Regions from separate parts of the Homo sapiens genome. Here region 1 is linked to region 2. The links are contacts of gene promoters, found by promoter capture Hi-C in blood cells and fetal thymus (Javierre and others, 2016). All regions are on one chromosome and are shown on one strand. The core of a region is centred on a gene start or on the middle of the fragment in contact, and the rest is flanking DNA. Distances in the headings are between cores, read along the strand shown. Region 1 overlaps NDUFA6-DT (NDUFA6 divergent transcript). Region 2 holds the start of SEPTIN3 (septin 3).

Region 1 (3,752 bases), core at 460-2,959, 120 kb before region 2:
TGTGGGTCACAGAGATCACATGCTTCACAAGGTAATAAGATATCACAAGGTAAATGAAGGCAGGGCGAGTTCACAGGACCACAGGACCGGGGCGAAATTAAAATTGCTAATGAAGTTTTGGGCATGCATTGTCACTGATAACATCTTATCAGGAGACAGGGTTTGAGAGCAGACAACCGGTCTGACCAAAATTTATTAGGTGGGAATTTCCTCATCCTAATAAGCCTGGGAGCGCTACAGGAGACTGGGGCTTATTTCATCCCTACAGCTGTGACTGTAAAATACAGCCACCCCCCAAGTGGCCATTTCAGAGGCCTACCCTCAGGGACGCATTCTCTTTCTCAGGGGCGTTCCTTGCTGAGAAAAAGAATTCAGCGATATTTCTCCCATTTGCTTTTGAAAGAAGAGAAATATGGCTCTGTTCCGCCCGGCTCACTGGCAGTCAAGAGTTTAAGGTTATCTCTCTTGTTCCCTGAACGTTGCTGTTATCCTGTTCTTTTTTCAAGGTGCCCAGATTTCATATTATTCAAACACACATGCTCTACAAACAATTTGTGCAGTTAATGCAATCATCACAGGGTCCTGAGGCGACATACATCCTCCTCAGCTTACGAAGATGACGGGATTAAGAGATTAAAGACAGGAATAGGAAATCACAAGGCTATTGATTGGGGAAGTGATAAGTGTCCATGAAATCTTCACAATTTATGTTCAGAGACTGCAGTAAAGACAGGTGTAAGAAATTATAAAAGTATTAATTTGGGGAACTAACAAATGTCCGTGAAATCTTCACAATTTATGTTCTTCTGCCACGGCTTCAGCCGGTCCCTCCGTTCGGGGTTCCTGACTTCCCTCAACAGATGCAGTCTCACTATGTTGCCCAAGCTGTTCTCAAACTCCTGGCCTCAAGCAATCCTGACATTATAGGAATGAGCCACCATGCCTGGGTGACAGACCACCTTCTGTTTATCCACTTATCAACAGATAGCCATTTGGGTGTTTTTAGTTTTTGGCTATGGTGAATAATGCTGCTATGAACATTTGCATACAAGTCTTTGTGTGGAAAAAAATTTCTTCAGGGTAAATACCTAGGATTGGAATTGCTGGATCATATAGTAAGTCCACGTTTAACTTTTTTTTTTTTTTTTAAATACGGTCTCATTATTTTGCCTAGTCTGGTCTCAAACTCCTAAGCTCAAGCAATGCTTCTGCCTCGGCCTCTTACAAGTGAGTACCACCACTCCTGGCCATATTTAACTGTTTAAGAAACTGCCAGACTGTTTTCCCAAATGGCTACACCATTTTACATTCCCACCAGCAAAGTATAGAAAGTTCTAATTTCTCTATATCCTTGCCAACACTATCTTTTGTCTTTTTTTTTTTTTTTTTGAGATGGAGTCTTGCTCTGTCACCCAAGCTGGAGTGAAATGGCATGATCTGGGCTCACTGCAACCTCCACCTCCCGGGTCAAGCAATTCTCCTGCCTCAGCCTCCCTAGTAGCTGGGATTACAGGCATGCACTACCATGCCCAGCTAATTTTCCTATTTTTAGTAGAGAGGAGGTTTTACCACGTTGGCCAGGCTGGTCTCAAACTCCTGAACCCAAGTGATCTACTGGCCTTGGCCTCTCAAAATGCTGGGATTACAGGTGTGAGCCACCGTGACTGGCTGTGTCTGCCTTTTTCACTCTAGCCATTCTACTGGGTGAGAAATGGTATCTCACGAGGGTTTTGATTTTTATTTCCCTAATGGCTCATGATGTTGAATGTCTTTTCATGTACTTATTGGTCACCCGTATATCCTCTTTGGAGAAATGGTTATTCAAATACTTTACCCATTAAAATAAAAATTTCATCTTTAAGAGCAGTTTCGAGTTCACAGCAAAACTGAACAGAAAATACAGGGTTCCCCCACCCCACACACACTCATAGCCTCCCCCCACCAACAACATCAGGCACCAGAGGATATATTTGTTATAAGCAATGAAGCTACATTGACACACCAGTATCACCCATATCCCATAGTTTACATTAGGTTTCATTCTTGGTGTTGTACATCCTGTAGGGTTTGACAAATGTGTAATAACATGTATCCACCATTATAACATCCAGAGTAATTTCACTACCCTAAATATTCTCTGTGCACCACCTCTGTGCATTTCTCCCCACTCCCAGCCCCTGCCATCTTTTTTATTGTCTCCATAGTTTTGCCTTTTCCAGGATGTAATATAGTTGGAATCATACAGTATGTAGCTCTTTCAGATTGTCTTCTTTCACTTACTAATATGCATTTAAGGTTTCTCCATGCCTTTTCATGGCTTAATAGCTCATTTCTTTCTAGTGCTGAATATAGTCCATTGTCTGGATATACCAAGGTTTATTTATCCATTTACCTGCTAAAGGACATCTTGGTTGCTTTCAAGTTTTGGCAATTACAAATAAAGCTGCTGCTGGCCGGGAGCGGTGGCTCACGCCTGTAGTCCCAGAACTTTGGGAGGCCAAGGCGGGCAGATCACGAGGTCAGGAGATCGAGACCATCCTGGCTAACATGGTGAAACCCCGTCTCTACTTAAAATACAAAAAATTAGCTGGGCTTCGTGGCAGGCGCCTGTAGTCCCAGCTACTTGGAGGCTGAGGCAGGAGAATGGCGTGAACCCAGGAGGCAGAGCTTCCAGTGAGCCGAGATCGCGCCACTGCACTCCACCCTGGGTGACAGAGCGAGACTCCATCTCAAAAACAAAAACAAAAACAAAAGCTGCTGTAAACATCCATGTGCAGGTTTCTGTGTGGACATAAGTTTTCAGCTCATTTGGGTAAACACTAAGGAATGCAATGGCTGGATCTTCTGATGGGAGTATGTTTAGTTTTGTCAGAAAGCCAAACTGTCTTCCAAAGCTGCTGTACCATTTTGCGTTCCTACCAGTAAGGAGAGTTCCTGTTGCTTCACATCCTCACCAGCATTTGGTGTTGTCTCCCTTGCCCATTTCTAAACTTGGCTATTTGTCTTTTCATTACTGAGTTGTAAGAATTTTATGTATCCTAGATACAAGTCCCTTATGGAACATGTGATTTGCAAAAATTTTCTCCCAGTTTGTGGGTTGTTTAGAGGTCTTTTTTTTCTTTTCCTTTTGAGACAGGGTCTCACTCTGTCGCCCAGACTGGAGTCCAGCGGCGCAATCTTGGCTCACCGCAACCTCCACCTCGCGGGCTCAAGCGATCCTCCTGCCTCAGCCTCCCGAGTAGCTGAGATTACAGGTGCCCACCACCATGCCGGCTAATTTTTGTATTTTTAGTAGAGACGGGGGTTTCACCATGTTGGCCAGGCTGGTCTCGAACTCCTGACATCAGGTGATACACCTGCCTTGGCCTCCCAAAGTGTTGGGATTACAGGAGTGAGCCACTGCGCCCCATTTTTTTTTTGAATGTTGAACACAATGAATTTATCATGATAGTGGGTACTTCTGAAGGAGGCAGGGGTATACACAAGGTTAGAATCATACAGGTAGATATCATGGTATAGGTGCTGCGAGAGTCAGAAAACTGACTCTGGCACCAGCTGCCTGGGCTTCAACCCCAATGCTGTAAAGTAACTTAGTCTCTTTGTGCCTCAGTTTTCTCATCTATAAAATGAGTATATCAGCCGGGGGCAGTGGCTCACACCTGTAATCCCAGCACTTTGGGAGGCTGAGGTGGGTGGATCACCTGAAGTCAGGAGTTTGAGACCAGCCTGGCCAACATAGCAAAACCCCGTCT
Region 2 (3,711 bases), core at 217-2,716:
TGGAGTCAGAAACAGAGCCAGCCCTGGAGAAGGTGAGGATGGGAAATGGAGAGGCAGTGAGTGTTCACAGAAGGAGCTTATCTGGTGAACAAGCCATGGTCCCCGCCCTTGAAGAGGCTGCCATGCCCAGGGATGCCAGGCAAGGAAGTAGGCAGGGCTCCACCAAGCTAAGCATTAGGGGTAGAAAGGCGGGAGGCTAGACCTGAGCTGGGGCTGTTCCTACAGAAGGCCCAAAGGTGAGAAAGTGTGGCATCTTTCTGAAAATCCAACATGGGGCTCCTAGGCTGTATGTAGCAGGGAGGGGAGAGCCAAGGCTGCAGGTGAGCTGGGGTCCAGGCCAGGCTACAGCAAAGTTTAGGCCAGGGAATGTGACCCATTCCGATCTGTAGGTGGGAACGGCCACTCGGGCAGTGTGACAGAGGGATCAGATGGGAACAGAATTGAAGCCAGGATCCCATGAGGACATAGTTGAAACTCTCTGCTCCGTGGGCTGTGCAAGGGGCAGAGCTAGGGCTGGGGCTGGAGGAGGCTGCATTGCACAGGGGTAGAAGTGGCGGGACTGCCCAGGGTAGGGAGTGGGCACAAAGAGGTGTCGAGGATGAAGCTCAGGACTCTGGCTGTGGTCTTAGTAGATGGGCCACTCCCTGCTACTCTGGACTCCAAGTAACTCACCCTCTAGAAAAAAGTTGGTTTGGTTGCTTTTAACACAGCAGGCTGGGACCTGCAGCTGGGGGACAAGGCCAGGGCTGGTGGGAGGAGTCAGTTCCAGAGGGCTCATGGGGAGGGGAGTGATCATGTAGCCAGGTCCTTGAGGTCTGCAGCAGGGACGGGGAAGGCAGGGCACCGGACAGGGAAGGCATCACCCCTCACAATGGTGCCCCCAGCCCCTCATCCCTCTCCAGCCATATATTTGTATCCAAGACTGTCCTGGCCTCCAACCCTTTCCCACCTGGCCTATCACTGCAGCCCTGAACTTCTGCCCCCTCCTGCACAGCCACATCCACTTGGGCACACACGTTTACCCTGCACTTAGCCACAAACAGCTCCCCTCAGTGTGCACACCCACACACAGAGCAGGCCAGAGGACAGGGTGTCCGAGGGCATCACCCGACTCCCCATCCCCTCACTGCACTCCCATCTTCCATGGATTGCTTGGTCCTTCCCCACCCCACCCCCACCACCCTCCCACCCCCACAAACCCCCACACCCTTCCACCCCCCTACACACCTACCTTGATCAGAGGACAAGAAGGATCCAGTGTGTCTGGGAAGATAAGGCACACGCAGGCCCCTCACCTCCCCTGCACTCAGAGTCTGGCCATGGTGGCCAGCTTAGGGGCCTTGTCCCTCTGGTCCCCTCCTCAGCTCCTGCTCAGCCTCCAGGCCACAGTCCCCAGGCACAGGGCCCAGCCCTCTGCTCACTGTCCCACCAGCTACATCCCCGGAGACCGTGCTGGGCTGGGCTCTGGTGCAGGGAGGGGCTGGCTTCCTAGGAGTGGGCGGCTGTGAATGGCTGCTCTGAGCCTCTGGAATCCTGAAGAGCCATGGGAGGCTGGTAACGGCCAGGCTGGCACTCACGGCCACCTGCAGGGAGGTTCCCTGCAGCCTGCCCTCCCCAAATCTGCTCTGTCTCCCACAGACTTTGATGCCTGGGGAGTCTGCAGTAAAAACAGGGGTACTCCAAATATGGCTGCACTCTGGTAGTCCCAGCGCGAGTCTCCCTCTGGCTCTGCCTCTGTGCCCTTCATGCCCTGTTCAGCTCTGCAACCCTCAGACCATCTTGCCCACTCACCTGGTCTTTCCTCAAGGGGGCTGGAGTTCCTGGAGGCTAGAGCTCCTTCCACAACTATTCCCTGAGCCCCAGCTTGCTCCAGCTGGACCCTGTACCCAGACCCTAAGGGTGTGAAGAGGACCCCGCCCTAGGCCTGCCCCTGAGGGGACCACAAAGCCACCCAGCCTGGCTCTGGCAATGCCGACTCTCAGCAGCCCCTGGCCCTGGGGCTGGGATGGGAGCCCTCTTCTGTGTTCCCACAGCCCTCGGCTGCCTCTGTCATAGCAGTGGTGATAATAACAATGGTGCTGATAACAGCTACTATTTCCTGAGCACTTGCTCTGTGCCCGGCACCATGCCAGGGCTGGGCGGAGCTCACAGTCTGCTAGGAAGATAGGTATGTAAACAGATCCTATAGTACTGTCCTGTACGGTGATGGCAGATGTCCTCCGAGCACTCACCCTGAGTCAGGAACTAGGCTAAGCATTCTCCTGGCATCTCCTTTAATCTCCGCCTCATCACCTGCTTTTTACCGAGGAGGACATTGCAGCCCACACAACACTGTGTTGTCTGGTCTGCTCTCCTGTGTGTCTCTCTCTTTAGCGAGTGAGCTTCTGGAGCTGCGCTGGGCAATACAACTTTCAGTGATAATGGAAATGTTCTATGTCTGTGCTGTCCAGTACAGTAGCCACTAGCCACAGATGGCTACCGATCACTTAAAATGTGTCTACAGTGACCAAGGAACTGGATTTTTTAGTTTATTTTAATCTGTGGCTACCATATTAGCTCAGCTCTGTTTCGTTTGTTGTTGCTGTTGTTGTTATTAGTTTTTTTGAACAGGGTTTCACTCTGTCGCCCAGGCTGGAAGACAGTGGCGCCATCATGGCTCACTGCAGCCTCTTGGGCACAAGTGATCCTCCCACTTCTGCCTCCAGAGTAGCTGGGACCACAGGCATGCACCACCACGCCCAGCTAAGTTTTTATTTTTTGTAGAGACGGGGGTCTCCCTATGTAGCTCAGGCTGGTCTCGAACTTCTGAGCTCAAGCAATACTCCTACCTCCACCTCCCAAAGTGCTGGGATTACGGTCGTGAGCCACCATGCCTGGGTGGAAAGCTCAGTTATGAAGGTCCTGGATCTTCTTCTCTGGGCCCCAGGGTCTGGCAAAAATTGGCTTCAGTAAGTTTCTTTTTCTTGAGAGTCTCACTCTGTCACCCAGGCTGGACTGCAGTGGCGGGATCTCAGCTCACTGCAACTCCGCCTCCCGGGTTCAAGCCTCAGGATTCTCCTGCCTCAGCCTCCCAAGTAGCTGGGATTACAGGTGTGTGCCACCACGCCTGGCTAATTTTTGTATTTTTAGTAGAGACGGGGTTTCACCATGTTGGCCAGGCTGGTCTCAAACTTCTGACCTCAAGTAATGCATCTGCCTCAGCCTCCCAAAGTGCTGAGATTACATGCATGAGCCACCGTGCCCAACCGGTAAATTTCTTTAGAAAGAAATAATGAATGAATGAATGATTGAATGGTGATTGTGTGGGCCTAGCACCCATCCCTCTTCTTTTTTTTTTTTTTTTTTTGAGACAGAGTCTCGCTCTGTCACCCAGGCTGGAGTGCAGTGACGCCATCTCGACTCACTGCAAGCTCCGCCTCTCGGGTTCACACCATCACACCATTCTCCTGCCTCAGCCTCCCGAGTAGCTGGGACTACAAGCACCCGCCACCACGCCCACCTAAATTTTTTGTATTTTTAGTAGAGATGGGGTTTCGCAGTGTTAGCCAGGATGGTCTTGATCTCCTGTCCTTGTGATCCGCCTGCCTCGGCCTCCCAAAGTGCTGGGATTACAGGCATGAGCCACCGTGCCCAGCCCCTATCCCTCTTCTTATCCTTTCTCTCCCCTTACAGCTTTAGGTTCTCAAACTTGGCTGGGCTCTGGTTACCAGG

Evidence for each region. Contacts are between HindIII fragments. The CHiCAGO score rates a contact against its expected background, and 5 or more counts as called.
Region 1: a fragment that was not itself captured here is called in contact with the fragment with the promoter of SEPTIN3 in region 2 in 1 of 17 cell types (endothelial precursors); the score reaches 5.1 in endothelial precursors.

The regions. Positions count from the first base shown.
Region 1 is chr22:42,092,274-42,096,025 of GRCh38, reverse strand. All of the region lies in intron 3 of NDUFA6-DT (NDUFA6 divergent transcript), which reads right to left. Among named protein-coding and RNA genes, the nearest start is that of NDUFA6-DT, 3.2 kb to the right of the region's middle. The HindIII fragment of the contact is 4,764 bases long and covers 1-3,752 here.
Region 2 is chr22:41,967,198-41,970,908 of GRCh38, reverse strand. It overlaps SEPTIN3 (septin 3), which reads right to left and starts at 1,466. Exons shown (of 12, transcript NM_001363845.2): 1 at 1,232-1,466. The HindIII fragment of the contact is 14,934 bases long and covers 1-3,711 here.